Regions from separate parts of the Homo sapiens genome. Here all the other regions are linked to region 2. Evidence: promoter capture Hi-C in 16 types of primary human blood cells and fetal thymus (Javierre and others, 2016). All regions are on one chromosome and are shown on one strand. Each heading gives the region's core, a stretch centred on a gene start or on the middle of the fragment in contact. The rest is flanking DNA. Distances are from core to core; before and after follow the strand shown.

Region 1 (2,720 bases), core at 53-2,552, 330 kb after region 2:
ATCTGCCGCCCTCTACGTTATCCATGCATTATGAATAAGCAAGTATGCACTGGCCTTATCATCTTTGCATGGTCATGTGTCTTTGTAATCTTCCTAATTCTGTTGATTCTCATTTCACAGATATCCTACTGTGGCCCAAATATTATCAACCATTTTGTTTGTGATCCTGTACCATTGGTGATGCTGTCCTGTTCTGCAGACATAATCATCACCTAGCTCATTTACTCCACATTCAATTCTATCTTCATGATTGGCACCTTTCTCTTTATCCTTTGTTCCTATGCTCTGGTGATTCTGGCTGTAATACAGATGCCTTCAGAGGCTGGCAAACGAAAGGCTTTCTCCACTTGTGCCTCTCATTTGGCAGTTGTCACCTTGTTTTATGGCTCTATCATGGTGATGTATGTTAGTCCTGGATCAGCACACCCAGTAAAAATGCAAAAAATCATTACCTTGTTCTATTCTGTGATAACACCACTCTGTAATCCTCTAATATATAGTCTCAGGAGCAAAGAGATGAAAGATTCTCTGAGGAAAATCTTCAGGACTGGAAAAGATGTTAATAAAATATAAATAAGAGACAATTTTCATTTATCAAATGTAACTTTATTATACATGAATATTTGTCTACAAATTTATTGTTTTATTTAACAACTGCTATAATAATGAGCCATTAACATCTTAAATACCACTCACCACAATCTGCATTACTGTGGTCTTATTTAAGTATGTTTCAACAGTGAACTAGATTTTCTGTTGAAGTGAATAATAAGTATGTAAAATCAGAACCTGTATATGTAATTCAACTTTTCAAAAAGAATACAGACATCCTTTTTGTATTACTGAGCTAAAGCAATTGATAACACATGTGACAGATATCATAGACTGCTCTCACAATTAACACTATAATCCAATCATTATCCACTAGGAGATACTGGCTGAAAAAGAGCCAAGTTTTAAGAAGTCCAGCTTGTCAAAATGTAGCAAGTGGTCTTTACATTATGTAAATAGACTAATAGCCTTAGTTTGATATTCAGTGTTTTTTCAGAGAGTACACAACCAAGAATTAGGAATTTAAAGCAGATTTGTTACCTGGAATATAGTGCAGCAAAGACCTAAACAAAAAGGTGAGCATTACTCAGGATATAGCTTGCTTTGTTGTAAACCCACTTTAAACACAGGATTTGATATCATAACTAATTTAGTATTAATACTGTGTGACTTATTTGAGTACTGCTGGACAGTACTAAAACAAAACTCTTAAAATCCATTTTATAAAATATTTGACTAATATCTTGCTTTAATTTTGACTTTTGTTCTATGCCATTTTTTCAAATACAACTCTCAAAAACTTAATAAAAAGGAATCACAATATGAAATGTAGTTTACAGAATTTTAATTTGTAAGACTTCATAGCTATTTGCTCCACAAAATGAGGTGCTACTGCAATTAGTTTTTGTGTCACAAGGAAGCTGAGTTGAGAATATTTTCTGGGTTTGAAAGGAAGGATTTATGTGAGTTCTGGGGAAAAGAGTGGTTGTTTTATTATACTTCGCATGTGAAATGTAAATTAAGTAGCTAAATACTTGCCTGAAAAACTCTTTTATATAGGAAGAAAATACAAACAATTTAGAACTTCGTTCAAACTGACTTCAACGGTGGGCTCTCTTTAAAGTGCTGATAAATTTAGCACTGAGTTTCACCTGTCCATGCCAGTTTTGTTTATATTTCTTAATTATATGAGAAAAAATGATAGAAATTCTTAATAAAATATAATCTCAACTGTTATAAATGTGCACAGTGCCCATATTTGTAATTATCTTCAAGTTGATCATTAACCAATCTTATCTTACCAATATTAAATTCTATCTCATATTGAGCTTGCTGGCACTTGATAGAAAGAATTGAAAACTATTTGATACAGTAAAAAGCATTTCCGTAAGATACAAACATGCCTTCATTGTGACAATATCTCTTCCTCAGTTCATACCTATGGCTTCATGGTATTTCACACAACCAGCTAATAAAGGAAGAAACAGCCTCAGGCTTGGCTCACAAATGGATTGTCTGAATCTACACTTAGACAAGATAAAAACTGACTAATGCTGCAGCTTAACGCCTCTCCAGGGTAGCCATAGAATGTAGTGGTGGAGGAAATCCTCATAAACCAATGATTTGGTAGCAATATACTTAGTTGTCCACTTTGAATGTTGGGAAAAATAGCTTGCTATGCAAGATAAGGATATGTGTAGAATAATGATTGTTGTAAAAAAACTTCACTAAGCAAAGCCCCCCCAAAATACAGAAAAATCAGATTTAATGAAATTTGAGGTGGAGGCCTATGTATGGGCCTATGAGAATAAGCACAAAGTATGCAGATCTTTGTTTCTCAACTCTGTGCCCATTAGAGAGTATCCTCCAGAGTGGAGGCACTCAATACCTAGGTGAAAAGAATAAGTCATCTAAAAATGTCAGTCAGCTCTGATTTCATTCACCTCAGAGCTTATAAAAGGGAATACAAAGAAAGTTGTATAAATGGAAAATATCCACAAGCCAAAAAATACAGGCATTATCTTACCAAGGTTGGTGACAAATCACTGAGCCACTGAAGATGCAGCCTCGATGAGAAACCAATGCTAAGCCCTCAATATGGCACCAATCTTTGAGAAAACCAGCCAGCAATGGGTGGCAAATTGATTACATCAAATTCCTTTTACTTT
Region 2 (2,700 bases), core at 179-2,678:
GGCATCTTATAGTCACTGTGCTGTTGAATTTGTGGACTCATTCTTACTTTTTGCCTCCATTGATTCAAGAAACTAGAATTGCTTTTTCTGTTAACATTATTTAATTCATGACTTGTTCATGATACCTCATTTAATAATAGTATAAATTTATGAATAACATTATCAATATATATTAAAATAACCTCTAATAATATTCATATCTTCATGTATTCATTTACAGTTGTTTCTTTATTAATGAATATATTGAATGTATATGATAAAAATCCTCAATAATCTTTTTATGTTTATTTATGTCTATTTTTATGTCTATTTTGCTGCAGATCTCTATCCTTATGTTTATAAAAGTCTTAAATGTAAAATTTAAAGTAATTTAGTATTGTCTTTATGCGTTATTATTATAACATAAGAAAAGTGAAATGATGCATTATACATAATCTATTCAAACTATCTTATCGTAGCATTTAAAAGTTAATTATATAGTGCTAACATCTAGAAATTCTGTGCAGAACTAACATATTGGAACCGTAATTTTCTTATGGCCTCTTGCATTTTCTTATTTCTCAGGGTATAAATACTCGGATTCAGTAAGGGTGTGATAACTGTATAAAATACGGCAAGAGTTTTATTGCTTGCCAAACTACTGAATGGCCAAACATAGATAAAAATACAAGGTCCAAAGAACAGAGTGACCACAATGATGTGGGCAGACAATGTGGACAGCGCCTTGGAGAGCCCATGTGATGATTTTTTTGGTACACTGACCAGGATGACAATGTAAGAAACAAGCAAGAGGATGAAACAGGTGAAAGAGAGCAGCCCGCTGTCAGCAATGACAAATAATTCCAGGGTGTATGTTTCAATGCAAGCAAGCTTGATCACAAGGGGAAGATCACAAAATATGTTGTTTATGACATTGTGGCCACAGAAAGGCAAGTTCATTGTTAAAACTATCTGGCTTATGGAGTGTAAAAAACCAATTATCCATGAAAGTATCGCAAACCCCTTTAGCAGCTTGTGGCTCATGATTGTCCTATAGTGCAGGGGTTTACATATGGCTACATACCTGTCAAAGGCCATGATTATCAGAAGAGTCATCTCAGCACCCCCAAAGAAGTGCATGAAGAACATCTGGGTCACGCAGCCCCACACAGAGATGGTCTTGTGGTCAGTGAGCAAATCTATGATCATCTTGGGTGTTGTGGCAGTGGAGAGACACATGTCCAAAAAAGAGAGATTTCCAAGGAGAAAGTACAAGGGAGAATGAAGGGTTGACCTACATGTCACTGTGACCATAATGAGAATGTTTCCCATCACAGTAGCACCGTAGATCAGGGAAAATGTCACAAAGAAGAAAATTTGAAGTTCCCATCGTCCAAAAAATCCTAGTAAAATAAACTCGGTCACTAGAGATCCATTTTTAAGATCCATTTACTCAACTCAGAAAGGTTCCAGAAGTTCTTTATATACAAAGAGAATTAAAAAATAAGTCACAGTTAACACCAATATTTTCTTATTTCTATTAGTTGGTGATAATAGTTGATGATATGAGATCATATAATTTTAAATATATCAACACAGAGATTAGCTTAAATATTATATCACTTTGAAACAATTACTCTGCAGTAATTACAAATCATTTGAAGAAGTAGAAGTTCCATTTTCTATTGTTTATTCCATAAAATCATACTCTTATCAATGGATCTTGACTTTCTTACTCATTTGTTCACATATAAAGATTAGATACTAATTAATTACTTTTTATTTTGCCTTTTATTATTATAGTATTCTGTACCTGCACTTCTTGAGATTATGTTATCCCAATATATAAGGAATACAAGATTTAGAAAATGAAGAATTACATTGTTCTACATCTCTGAAGTAATTTATGAAGGTTTTTCTATGGTTCTAAACTAAATAAGCAAACAAACAAACAAAAAGCACACACACACACACACACAAATCAGGAGCAAATTATACATGGATGAAAGTATATAAATTTATTTAAAATAATTTTTCTTTTTAATATACATGTATACCTCTTTTATTGTGTTTCACTTTATTGTCCTTTGCAGTTATTTAATGTTTTATAAACTGAGGGTTTGTGACAACCCTGGATCCAGCAAGTCTATTGGCACCATTTTTCCAACAGCATGTGCTCACTTTATGTCTCTGTGTCACATTTTGGTAATTCCCAAAATATTTATTTCAAACTTTATTATTATTATTACACGTTATTTGATCTGTGACCAGTAATCTTTTATGTTACTATTTTCATTATTTTTGGGCACCACAAGCCGTGCCCATGTAGAATGGCAGACAATTGATAAATGTTGTTTCTAACGGCTCCACCAACCTACTCTTCCCTCATCTCTCTCCTTCTCTTCAGGCCTCTCTATTCTTTGAGATACAACAATATTGGATTTAGGCCAATTAATAGCTTTGCAATAGCCTCTAAGTGTTCAAGTAAAAGGAAAAGTTGCATGTCTTTTATTTGAAATAAACTAAGAAAAAACTGGAGACAGTTAAACGTTCAGTGGTTTCCAGGGGTTTGAATGAAGAAGGAGAAATGAAGAAATAAGAGAAGTACGGAGAATTTGCAGGGTATTGAAACAATTCTTATCTACTATACTTAGAAATACATAACACATTTGTCAAAACCCATAGCATGTATAACATCAAGAGTAAATCCTAATGTAAACT
Region 3 (2,700 bases), core at 17-2,516, 290 kb after region 2:
TTCAGCAAATGGGGGTATGTCACAGCTCATTCAGTCCTGCTGCCCACAGCTCAGCAACTGGGGACGTGTGGCACCCAGCATTTTTTTTTTCACTCCTGTAGCTTGGTGAACAGGAGCGTGTCTTACAACTCTTTTCGCACCCACTGTTCAGTGGATTCCGGATTCTTGTCCCACAACCAACAGGAATGAAGCATATAGACACCGCAGAGTGAGCAAGGCTGATGAGATTTTTACTGAGCGGCAGAAAAACTCATGACAACAAGAGAGTAGCCAAAGTGGGTAGCCCTCTGTGTAAGAGTGGGACTGAAAGCAGAGAGCCATCTGTGAGGCTGAGTCTGGGGTTTTTATGGGCTCAGAATGGAGGAATGTGTGCTGACTGGTTCATGGGCAGGCCTGGAAAAAGCACCATTTAATTGACTAAAAGGCACTGAGGAAGTTCTCAGTTGGGTCGTGGACTGCACCTGGAACTGGTGGCTTGGTTTTCAGGCTTCATGTTGTCTTTGGCTTGAAGGTTGGGATTCACCAGGGACTTATACCTGTCTGCCTAGGAATCTGTCTGTCTCCTGCCATTATCAGCTGCACATACCACACTGCTTTCACTACCAAGGAACCCACAATGATCACTGCGCAAACTATAGTACTTAACTCCACAGAGGACTCCAGCAGGTTTAGTCACTGACAAAATCAACACCCAAAGATCACAAAGAAGCAGGAAAACATGACACCACCAAAGGAACAAAATTAATTTCTAGTAACCAACCCCAAAGAATTGGAGATCTATAAATTGCCTGGAAAAAATCAAAATAATTACATAAGGAATCTTGGGGAACTACAAGAGAACACAAATAAATAGTTTAATGAAATCAGGAAGACAATCCAAGAACAAAATGAGAAGCTCAATAAAGAGAGAAAATATTTTAAAAAGAACCAAACAGAAATGTTGGAGCTGAAAAATACAACAGCTAAACTAAAAAAAAATGTAATAGAGGCTTGAACATCAGACTAAATGAAGCAGAATAAAAAAATAAGTGAACTCAAAGACCGAGCATTTTAAATCATCCAGTAAGTGGAGATAAAAGAAAAAAAAGAATAAAACCTACAGAAGCCATGGAATACTATCAAGAGAGCTAACATTAGAATTATCGTAGGTTCAGAAGAAAAATAGAGAGAGCATTAGATAGAAAGCTTATTTAAGGAAATAATCATGGGAAACTTAGCAAATATCCGGAAAGAAATGAGCATCCACATGCACGAAGCCTAAAGTTCTCCAGTCAATTCAACCAAAAAAAGAATCCACAAACATACGTTAACATCAGCCTGGCAAAAATCAAAAACAGAGAAGCTTGTAAGCAGCAAGAGAAAAGAATCATGTCATATAAAAAAGGACCCAAATAAAGCTATCAGTGGATTTCTCAGCAGGAACCTTGAGGATCAGGAGAGAATGAAATAATATATTCAAAGTGATGGAAGAAAAATAAAACTGCCAACCAGCAATATTTTGCCAGCAAAGCTGTCCTTCAGAAATGAAGAAGATAAAGACTTTTTTAGAAAAACAAAAAAAGTTGAGTGAGTCTTCACTATTGCTTGCCTTACAAGAAATGCTAAAGGGGGATTTTTAAGATTAAATAAAAGGCAGCTAATTAGTAACATTAAAACATACAAAAATGTAAAACTAACTGGTAAAGTATATATATGGTTAAATTTAGAATATTCAAACACTATAATGGTGGTGGTGTGAATCACACCATCATTATAAAGTTATAAGATGAATGTATGCAAAATGACTATAGCTATAATAAATTCTTAAGACATACAAAAAATGTAAACTGTAACATCAAAAGCACAATGTAAGAGAAGGGAAGTAAAAGTACAGAGCTTCTTTAGCAATCAAAGTTAAGATGTTATCGTCTTTAAATGAATTGGTTAAACAATAAGAATATTTATGTAAGCCTCATGGCAACCACAAATTAAAAATCTATAGTAAATACACAAAAGATAAACAGAAAAGAATCAAAGCATACCACCAAATAAAATGATCAAATCACAAAGGAAAACAACAAAGGAGTAATAAAGGGATAAAGGATCTACAAAGCAACCAGAAAACAATTAATAAATTGACAATAATAAATCTTTACTTACCAACTATAAATAAGCAAATTTTGTTAATCAAAAGACAAAGAGTGGCTGAATTGATTTATAAAAATAAAATCCAACTTAATGCTGCCTACAAGAAACTCACTTCACCTTTAATAACACACACAGACTAAAAGTAAAGGGGTAAAAAACAAAAATATTCCATGAAAATGAAAATCAAAAAAGAGCAGTAGCAGTTACATGTGTATCAGACAAAATAGACTTTAAATACTGTCACAAGAGACAAAGAAGGTCATTAGATATTGATAAGAAAGTCAATTCATTGAGATAATAGAACAGTTATAAATATGAATACACCCAACATCAGAGCACCTAAATATATAAAGCAAATATTAACAAATCTAAAGCAAGAGATAGACTGCAATGCAATATTAATAGAGAACTTTAATATCCAATTTTCAACAATGGATAAATCATCCAGAAAGAATATTATTAAGAAAACATTGTCTTGAACTACTTCAGACTAAATGAATCTAATAGACATACACAGAATATTCAATCCAACAGCAGAACACACATTCTTCTCAAGCTTACACAGAATATTCT
Region 4 (2,771 bases), core at 124-2,623, 310 kb after region 2:
TATTATCTTCGGGATATCATACTGCTCTTCAGGATATTCATCGTATGCAAAAAACCCTGAAAATGTTGAGTAGAGTGAAGCTAAAGAGAAGAACATGATGTTCCAGGTATGTCATTCTCACCCTCACCCACACTATTTAGAAATCTCCCAAATGGCAGCCTAGTTCCTAGTCTGTGAGGAGTCCTTCTATAGCAATATATACATATACACATACATATATATGGCTTCTTAAATATAAAGTCATTAACTCCCAACACAAAAATAAAAATACATATTTTGTCCCTATATCAAGAAAGCTCTTACACGACCAGGGTTATTGCAATTTTCCAGTATATCCTAGTATTAGATGGAGTTTCAGACATTTTTTTCACAGGTATATTTTTCAGCTAAGTAATCATAAAAGCCTCTCTATGGCAATTCATTAGGAGATAAAGTGACAAAATATAAAAAACATTGTAAAAGTTTGTCATTATCTTATTATATAGTAAATAGAATAAACACATTTTCATAGCCATAAAATATTGCAAGGATCCTATGTCAGAGATGGATAATCTTAAATATAAATGCTTAAGTTAACCTTTTTAGGGATTTTCCAGCTCTGAAGCTCCTATACAGGTATTATAGAAATTAAGTAATCTGGCCGGGTGTCGTGGCTCATGCCTGTAATCCCAGCACTTTGAGAGGCTGAGGCAGGCAGATCACCTGAGGTCAGGAGTTCAAGACCAGTCTGGCCAACATGGAGAAACCCCGTCTTTACTAAAAATACAAAAATTAGCCAGGCATGGTGGCCAGCACCTGTAATCCCAGCTACTTGGGAGGCTGAGGCAAGAGGATCACTTGAACCTGGGAGGCGGAGGTTGCAGTGAGCCAAGATTGTGCCACTGCACTCCAGCCTGGGAGACAAGAGTGAGACTCTGTCTCAAAAAAAAAAGAAGAAGAAAGAAAGAAAGAGAGAAAGAGAGAGAAAGAAAAAGAGAAAAAAGAAGAAAGAGAGAGAGAAAGAAAGAAAGAAAAAAGAAAGAAAGAAAGAAAGAAAGAAAGAAAGAAAGAAAGAAAGAAAGAAAGAAAGAAAGAAGTAATCTGTATAATTGGGATAAATACTCTAAGAAATAGAGAGAAAGAGAGAGAAAGAAAGAAAGAGAAAGAAAAAGAGAAAAAGAGAGAAAGAAGAAAGAGAGAGAGAAAGAAAGAAAAAGAAAGAAAGAAGCAATCTGTATAATTGGGATAAATACTCTTTCTGAGGAGAAATAAAATATTAACTTAATTATATAATTATTAGCTTGCTTTCTTTTTTTTTTTTTTTTTTTTTTTTTTTTTTGCTTTGAGACCGAGTTTTGCTTTTGTTGCCCAGGCTGGAGTGCAGTGGTGCGATGTCAGCTCACTGCAACCTGTGCCTCCTGGGTTCAAGTGATTCTCCTGCCTCAGCCTTCCTGAGTAGCTGGGATTACAGGCATGCAACACCACGTCCGGCTAATTTTGTATTTTTAGTAGAGACGGGGTTTCTCCATATTGCTCAAGCTGGTCTCAAACTCCTGACTTCAGATGATCTGCCTGCCCTGGCCTCCCAAAGTGCTGGGATTACAAAGAGCTTTCTTGATTGATTGCATTTCTTCTAAGTGGTCATGGGCAAGTCACTTAACTCTGAGTTCATTCTCAAAAATGAAGTTAAGTAAATTTATTCCTCAAAGCATGTTTGAGACTCAGAGGTAATAACTGTGAGCATCTCAAAAATGAGTGCTTTCAATCACAGTTCATTTCTTCCTCTGTTCCTTTAGAGGTTAAAACTCTTAAACATTATGGTCAGTTGAAGAGCCAGCTTATCTATTCACCCCCACTGTAATTCCAATCAAAGAAAAACTCAGTGTGAAACTAGGTACCTCTTCTTGAGAAGCCTCTACAACAGAATACTAACAGCTTCCATCACCCCTGCACTCCTGGACTTCCTTTCTCTCACGCATAAACTTTGTTAAGAGCATATGTTCATTAGACTGATGCCTGACTACATTTCTAAAACTTGGGACACTGTGGAACACAGTTCTGAGGTAAATACTACACATAGGTGGTTGTTACTGTTCTCAGGCTTTGTTATAACAGAACAAAGAAATTCACACTACTTCAGAAAAGGATCTGATGAGACATCAGAAGGAACTTCCTAACACTAGGAATCATTAAATGCTGGAGGAACTGAACACAAAAAGAGATATATCTTCTTTCATTTGAATAGATTAAAAAGTGGAAAAAATTGAATAAATGAACAGTACTTAGAGACATAAAGATAGAAAAGTTGATCTTTCAATTAATGCTTGTTATCGTTTGTGGCCAGTAAATTCTACTGAGTTCCTGAGTTCTCTTGATTATGGTCAAAAGGCATAGGTGGCTTTCTAGAGTGCCACCTATGCTTTTAAATTGTAATCAAGAGTGATCCATTATAATCTTTATGCTATCTCCTCTTTTATACCAACGTCATCAAAGTGGTTTTTACCCATGTACAAGATGAGTTAAGAGTCTTCCAAGAAAGAGTGTGTTTTTCAAATCACCTCTTCTGCTCATTCCTTAACAAGGCAATGGAATGCCACATGGTTTTATCCTCAGCTTCTTCATAGCTGTCTTCATATCAGTATTTCTGAGTGTGTAGATGAGGGGGTTCAACATAGGTGTAATCACTGTGTAAAACAAGGAGAATATCTTATCCACAGAGAAGCTGCAGAAAGGCCTCAAATAGATGAATACGCATGGCACGAAGATCAGGCTGACCACTGTCAGGTGAGAAG

What was found. Contacts are between HindIII fragments. The CHiCAGO score rates a contact against its expected background, and 5 or more counts as called.
Region 1: a contact is called between a fragment that was not itself captured here and the fragment with the promoter of OR4L1 in region 2, in 1 of 17 cell types (total CD4 T cells). The highest score is 5.6, in total CD4 T cells.
Region 3: a contact is called between a fragment that was not itself captured here and the fragment with the promoter of OR4L1 in region 2, in 11 of 17 cell types (total CD4 T cells, non-activated CD4 T cells, activated CD4 T cells and 8 more). The highest score is 11.6, in total CD4 T cells.
Region 4: a contact is called between a fragment that was not itself captured here and the fragment with the promoter of OR4L1 in region 2, in 4 of 17 cell types (total CD4 T cells, M2 macrophages, neutrophils and 1 more). The highest score is 9.5, in total CD4 T cells.

What each region holds. Positions count from the first base shown.
Region 1 is chr14:19,731,196-19,733,915 of GRCh38, reverse strand. It overlaps the pseudogene OR11K2P. Among named protein-coding and RNA genes, the nearest start is that of OR4Q3, 11 kb to the left of the region's middle. The HindIII fragment of the contact is 7,271 bases long and covers 1-2,720 here.
Region 2 is chr14:20,058,773-20,061,472 of GRCh38, reverse strand. It overlaps OR4L1 (olfactory receptor family 4 subfamily L member 1), which reads right to left and starts at 1,428. Exons shown (of 1, transcript NM_001004717.1): 1 at 490-1,428. The coding sequence starts at 1,428. The coding sequence ends at 490. The HindIII fragment of the contact is 2,043 bases long and covers 873-2,700 here.
Region 3 is chr14:19,768,766-19,771,465 of GRCh38, reverse strand. No RefSeq gene overlaps it. Among named protein-coding and RNA genes, the nearest start is that of OR4M1, 3.4 kb to the left of the region's middle. The HindIII fragment of the contact is 157 bases long and covers 1,188-1,344 here.
Region 4 is chr14:19,748,152-19,750,922 of GRCh38, reverse strand. It overlaps OR4Q3 (olfactory receptor family 4 subfamily Q member 3), which reads right to left. Exons shown (of 2, transcript NM_001405963.1): 2 at 1,454-2,771. The coding sequence ends at 2,554. Among named protein-coding and RNA genes, the nearest start is that of OR4Q3, 6.0 kb to the right of the region's middle. The HindIII fragment of the contact is 6,740 bases long and covers 1-2,771 here.